Regions from separate parts of the Homo sapiens genome. Here region 1 is linked to region 2. The links are contacts of gene promoters, found by promoter capture Hi-C in blood cells and fetal thymus (Javierre and others, 2016). All regions are on one chromosome and are shown on one strand. Each heading gives the region's core, a stretch centred on a gene start or on the middle of the fragment in contact. The rest is flanking DNA. Distances are from core to core; before and after follow the strand shown. Region 1 holds the start of SNX22 (sorting nexin 22). Region 2 holds the start of LACTB (lactamase beta).

Region 1 (3,021 bases), core at 423-2,922, 1.0 Mb after region 2:
CCCACTAGAATCTGGGAAGTTTCAGCTTCCTGATTCTGTGGTCCTTGTGTGATGCAATTTGGAAAAAGAGAATGTGGGACATGATATTGGTGAGACCTGTTTGCCCCATTTTGGGGTCGTCATCTCAGCCCTTCTCTGGGGGCAGGGCTGGGGATGGAGGTTTTTTGCTCCAGCTCAGAGGCGTCTCTGCAGAAGCAGGGGAGGGGTGAGTCCCCTCAACCCCAGCCCCGAAGACAGGCACTCTGCTTCCTCCTGCCCACCCCAAGACCTCCCACTACGTATGAGCTTTGGAAGGCAGGGCCTCGCCTCTCTGCATGTCACGGGGCCTTTGTGGGGGAAGTCAGTGGAGTAGAGGACCTGCCATGGTGCTGCTGATAGCAGCTCTCCGACAGCTGAAGGGTGCAGGGCTGAGAGGTGGGAGCAGAGGTCCTTTCCAGCACATGGCCTGAGAGAGTTCTGGATCAAAATCCTGCCACATATCCAGGAAGAACCTGCCCGGAGGGGTGGACAAGAGCAACCCGGTGCCACCCCCCAAAGTCTCTCTTCCCATCCACTGCCCTGTGCCCACTTATCCTAGTCATCCAGGAGAAGCCCACAGTCAAGCTGCTGCTCAATGCTTCTGTTAAGGGCCTAACATGAATCATCTCACTTTTTTTTTTTTTTAAGACAGAGTCTTGCTGTTGCCCAGTCTGGAGTGCAATGGTTTGATCTCGGCTCACTGCAACCTCCGCCTCTCAGGTTCAAGTGATTCTCCCGCCTCAGCCTCCTGAGTAGCTGGGATTACAGGCATGTGCCACCACACCTGGTTGATTTTTGTATTTTTAGTAGGTACGGGGTTTCACCATGTTGGTCAGGCTGGTCTCGAACTCCTGACCTCAGGTGATCCGCCTACCTCGGCCTCCCAAAGTGCTGGGATTACAGGCGTGAGCCACCGCGCCCGGCCAAATCATCTCACTTTATACACTTGCCTGAAGGAGCCACGTTATCCCTATTTTGCAGATGAGCAAAGGTCTACGGAGCTCCTGAAATCCAGGCAGTCTGACGTCCAAATCGGAGTCTAGGTCCCTAAACTGCCTCTTCCCCACAAACAGCCTGGAGCCCCTTAGGGTTGGAAGATATGAGTGAATGGATGGATGAAAACAATGAATGAATGGGGGGGCCTGTGGATGCTGGGGAAAGGGGCATCAAAGCTGGACTGGGTCCAAGCCTTGCTCAGGTGTGGCCTCAGCCGGGGAATCCAGATCACAATTTCAGGGACCAGGCTGAAAGGAGGGAAAGGCTCGGGAAGGGACTGAGGAACCCAAGACAGGTCCCTGGTTGGCCCCAGGACCGGCGCTGAGGCCCGGGCCCCGCCTCCGTCCGCGCCTGGAGCCACAGGCCGTCCTTGGTAGGCGCTTAACTCAGGTTGGGTGACATTTTCGCTCGCCAGTTCCTGGCATCAGTGAGTGCTCCGTCAATGTTTGACAAACGGTTGACTCCACTGCCCCGCGCTGTGGGCGCACTAGACTTCGGGGGCGGCGTCCAGGTCCCGCCTAATCTTCTAGGCTCAGGACCCGCGGCGCAAGGGAACGCCCGGGGCGGGGTCGCCTGGGGGCGGGGCCTGGGGTGGGGCCTGCGGACCGAGGGGGCGGAGCCGGCCGCCCCGGGGTCCTCAGTCCGCTCCGGGAGAGTTAGGGCTCCGAGCCGAGCGCGCGGAGCAGCTGGGGCCGGGGCGCGGATGCTGGAAGTTCACATCCCGTCGGTGGGGCCCGAGGCCGAGGGGCCCAGGCAGAGCCCGGAGAAAAGCCACATGGTGAGCGCGGCCCCTGGATGGGGAGGGGCGCCGGGACCCGCAGGATTTCCCCGCGCTGCGCTCAGTGGGGACCCGGGGCCCGGGCCTGGGTGAACGAGCGCTGCGGGCTGGACCGTCGGGGGAAACCTTGTCGAGGGTTTGGGGGCCGCTTGGATTTGCCAGCCTCGCGGACCATGGTTCGAGCTCTTGAGGGACCCCAGGGCTCCGAGGGGCAGGTCCGCCAGCCGGTTCTCCCAGGTGTGCGGGAGCGGAGAGTCCCCGGGCAGCCGCGGCGCCGCAAGGCCGCTTTGTGCCTTTGAGAGCGGGAGGGTGGGCACGTCGCCAGGCGCAGGTGCTGCGGCGTCCTCCCGCGGGGCCTCACGCGCAGACCCGCTGCCCGCCCGCGCCGCCAGGTGTTCCGAGTGGAGGTGCTGTGCAGCGGGCGCAGACACACGGTGCCAAGGCGCTACAGCGAGTTCCACGCGCTGCACAAGCGGGTGAGGCGGCGCCGACCTCCCACCGGCCCCGGCCCAGCCTCTGTCCAGCCCCCGCCCAGGCCCTGTGAGGCGGGCGGGCGAGCCCCAGCCTCCGCCACCCCCATTACTGCCTCAGTCCCTGCGCAGCCGGTCAGCCCCCGGGCCTCTGTGGGTGGGTTGGGGCCTTCCTCGCCCTCGGCCGGTCCACCACTCACCAGGGTCTGTCCCAGTAGAGCCCGAAGGCGGGGGCGCGGGAGGGCTTCTGGCTGGGGCGAAGAGGGCTTGAGGGCTCAGTCGGGATGCTGTGATCGCACGCGGTAAACCTCCAGTAGATCAAGAAGCTGTACAAAGTGCCCGACTTCCCCTCGAAACGCCTGCCCAACTGGAGGACCAGAGGGTTGGAACAGCGCCGGCAGGGCTTGGAGGCTTACATCCAGGTATGCGAGAGCACAGTTGGTTGCCCCCCGGCCTTCTGTGCCAGGGGTGTGGCCCAGACAGAGAGGTGTGGGGGCATGGCAGGGAGGGAACCCACAACTTGGGGATGTTATTCACCACCTCAAGCATCAATTTTCTGAGTCTAATATAGGTCCAAACACCCCCCTCTGGCTTGTTGAAAGGACTGAAAGAGGTAACGGACACAGGTAGTCCCAGCTCCATGAAACCCAGGTCCTGTCCCCTCCATGGTGAGGTCCTGTGCTGCCCTCCTGATGGCATGTAGGGTGAGGGTCCTTCCCCCAACAGCAAAGCTATGCCGCGTCATGGGGTACAACCTGT
Region 2 (3,461 bases), core at 347-2,846:
GATACTCATTGTCTTGGTGACTGGCTTTCTGTGTGGCGAGCAATGGGATCTAGGCTAAACCCTTGGTGTTTCAGTAACATATGTACAGTTTAAAGAAAAATTATGTACAGTTTAAATAAAAGTGGGCACTCATAACCACCACTGACTGCGTCTTTTACATTTTTCTCTTTATATTTTTTCTCTCATGTTCTTGGAGTAGTGGTGACCCCCACCGTGGGAACCTCCAGTACTATCTTAATAGAGTACATCTGTCCACTATAACTGCAGTTTCAGTGTCAAACGCTCTGGGTCCTAGGATATTCTGGTCTCTTGGAGTCTTGGGTTTTGTGAGTAGCCCCAGAAGCTTTACTTATTTAGCCCCACTATTTTCTTGCTAGGTATGGATACCATTATTGCCTTTTCCTCCTATTAAATAATTATTACCTCAATATATTTATTTTGAGGTATGTATATGTTTACTCAGTAAGTTTATTACCTCAATATGTTTGTCCTGATGGCTTGTCAGTTCAAGTCTGTGAGCTCTCTTCTTTATTCCACCTGCAAGAAAAGACAGGGCCATTTTGTATATGGGGCATATTGCCCCAGTGCTGAAGGTATAAAGCCTACAAGCTTTCAAAGATTGTGTGTGTGTGTGTGTGTGTGTGTGTGTGTATGTATGTATCCCAAAATATAAAAATTACAAAACTGATAAATGTTTAAGTAACTTCAAATTAACATATCAATTTCATTACACGTTAAACTAGGATTTTATACACATTTTACATTTTGTAGCAATTTGAGATTAGGTTTCTTATTTCACAAGAATGTCTGATCATTTACAGATGCTGAGAAATCATAGGTAATTGTAAATTATAATAGTTACTTTTGGATTAAAATTTTTCAAGCACGAAATTTTTAAAAAACACTTTATCTTTTATAGCAAAAGAAAGGTAATATAAGGTCTGGATGTAACTTCATGTCTTTGGTACGGTGTGGAGCTAGAATTCCAGAAGCAATAGATTTTAAAACATCTTTAGGGAAATGGGTGAATTGAAATGAGACATAAGGGAGATGGCAAGAGAGTGAAAAGAAGCGCGTTCTAAAGGGGGAAAGGAGAAAGGGAAAGGAAAGGAGAAAGGCATCTCTAAAGGGAAAGGAGATGCCTGCTGAGCGTCTACTGTGTGCCCTGCGCTGTTCCAGAAGTTGAGGATCCAAAACTAAGTCTAGGCTCCCCAAAGAAGTCCCACTCTGGTAAGGAATCTGACAAGTAGTTAAATGATACAAAGTGTTAACTGTTGTTAAAGAAGTGTGCACACTGAGGGGCAAGATGGTAAGGGCGAGAACTCCCATGGGACGGGAACTAGGAAGGCTTCTGGGAGGTGACGCTTGATCTGAGGGTAAGCAAAGGAAAAAAAGGAAAGAGAGACAGAAAGGAAAAACAAGGAAGAGACAAGAAAAGGGAGAGGAAGAAGGGCTCGATGCGATCGGCGCTCGGGTAGTCAGGCGTCGACTGCTAGGGTCTGACCGCGGTCCCCACCCCCGTCCCGCCCCCTGCCCTTCCCTCCGCCCCGCGCCGCGGCTGGCAGGGTGTGCGTGAGTTTGGTGGCGGCCGGCTGTGCAGAGACGCCATGTACCGGCTCATGTCAGCAGTGACTGCCCGGGCTGCCGCCCCCGGGGGCTTGGCCTCAAGCTGCGGACGACGCGGGGTCCATCAGCGCGCCGGGCTGCCGCCTCTCGGCCACGGCTGGGTCGGGGGCCTCGGGCTGGGGCTGGGGCTGGCGCTCGGGGTGAAGCTGGCAGGTGGGCTGAGGGGCGCGGCCCCGGCGCAGTCCCCCGCGGCCCCCGACCCTGAGGCGTCGCCTCTGGCCGAGCCGCCACAGGAGCAGTCCCTCGCCCCGTGGTCTCCGCAGACCCCGGCGCCGCCCTGCTCCAGGTGCTTCGCCAGAGCCATCGAGAGCAGCCGCGACCTGCTGCACAGGATCAAGGTGCGGCCACTGGAGCGGGGGGCGTAGGGGGCCGGGGATCCACCCCTGTCGGCGGTGCTGTCGGGGGCTGAGTGGACCCCACCCGGGGCGGCGGGGTGCCCGCGATCGGCTTCCGAGAAAGACTTCCCATTTCCCCACCGCCGAGCCGTGGTCAGACGCTCTTGGGGGTTCCCCAAATCTGGGTGGAGGTCACCGCCTGTCTCGGGGACCGCCCCTTCCCCCTAGGGGGCGGACAGGCACATCCCTTGCTGTTAGTGAGTGACCATGGCCTGGGACGAGGTGGGCGGGGCCCAGGTGGAGGGGGCGGGGCCCAGGCTCAGGGGGCGGGGCCTTGGAAGGTCCCCGAGGAGAGCGCTGGGCTTTTTCAGCAGGCCCGTAACTGTCGGTTCTTTCCCCTTCGGTCTTAGGATGAGGTGGGCGCACCGGGCATAGTGGTTGGAGTTTCTGTAGATGGAAAAGAAGTCTGGTCAGAAGGTGGGTTCAGAAAATTGTTGTTTTGTTCTGTGCCAGTTGGTAAATAAAATATTGTTTTACTGGTTAGAGTGGATCCCATGAAATGCTATTGCATTTACATAAAACGATGCATATTGTAGAGAAAACATCTAACATAATAAAGAGTCAGGTGTTTTTAAATCACGGTAAGGTTTAAAATGTGACTAATAAATTGGAGTCATGAGGATGGCTACCCACTCCCACTTTTCTCTTAGGACTGGATTTATTAGTCTGAAAGTTTTATACAGTAGTCCCTCCTTATCCTGGGGATATATTCCAAGACCCTCAGTGGATGCCTGAAAAAGTGGATGATATTGAACCCTGTATATACTATATTTTATCTTATATATACATATCTATGATAAAGTTTATAAATCAGGCATAGTAAGAGATTAGCAACAATAATAAAATAGAACAATCACAACAATACTCTGAGTGGCATGCAATTTAAAGCTTACGAATTGTTTATTTCTGGAATTTTCCATTTAATACTTTCGGACCATGGATAACTGAAACTGAGGAAAGCGAAACCACAGATAAGGGGTAACTACTGTGTAGAACAATCCATTAACTGAGTACTTGCAGGTAACACTTATGGGTAGATAAAACTCAGAATTTGTGAAGTTTTCTTTTTTAATTAAGTTAACAATTTCTTGAGGCCTCTCTTCCGTAAAAAGCAAAGTGCTAAGTACTGGGGTTATACACTATTGTAGGGACCAGCCCCACAGGGTCGGTGGGTCTCTCCCTGTGTGCGGCGACGAGAGAGTGTAGAAATAAAGACACAAGACAAAGAGATAAAAGAAAAGACAGCTGGGCCCGGGGGACCGCTACCACCAATGCGCGGAGACCGGTAGTGGCCCCGAATGTCTGGCTGCGCTGTTATTTATTGGATACAAAGCAAAAGGGGCAGGGTAAAGAGTGTGGGTCATCTCCAATGATAGGTAAGGTCACGTGGGTCACGTGTCCACTGGACAGGGGGCCCTTCCCTGCCTGGCAGCCGAGGCA

Evidence for each region. Contacts are between HindIII fragments. The CHiCAGO score rates a contact against its expected background, and 5 or more counts as called.
Region 1: the fragment with the promoter of SNX22 here is called in contact with the fragment with the promoter of LACTB in region 2 in 1 of 17 cell types (activated CD4 T cells); the score reaches 5.4 in activated CD4 T cells.

What each region holds. Positions count from the first base shown.
Region 1 is chr15:64,150,059-64,153,079 of GRCh38, forward strand. SNX22 (sorting nexin 22) reads left to right here and starts at 1,673. Exons shown (of 7, transcript NM_024798.3): 1 at 1,673-1,792; 2 at 2,185-2,268; 3 at 2,580-2,684. The coding sequence starts at 1,718. RefSeq lists an enhancer at 332-441 and silencers at 1,359-1,798, 1,999-2,378. The HindIII fragment of the contact is 12,291 bases long and covers 1-3,021 here.
Region 2 is chr15:63,120,265-63,123,725 of GRCh38, forward strand. It overlaps LACTB (lactamase beta), which reads left to right and starts at 1,597. Exons shown (of 6, transcript NM_032857.5): 1 at 1,597-1,964; 2 at 2,372-2,438. The coding sequence starts at 1,608. LOC107984798 (a long non-coding RNA gene) reads right to left here and starts at 1,503. Exons shown (of 2, transcript XR_001751584.1): 1 at 476-1,503. RefSeq lists silencers at 1,486-2,065, 2,086-2,155, 2,166-2,355. The HindIII fragment of the contact is 2,300 bases long and covers 608-2,907 here.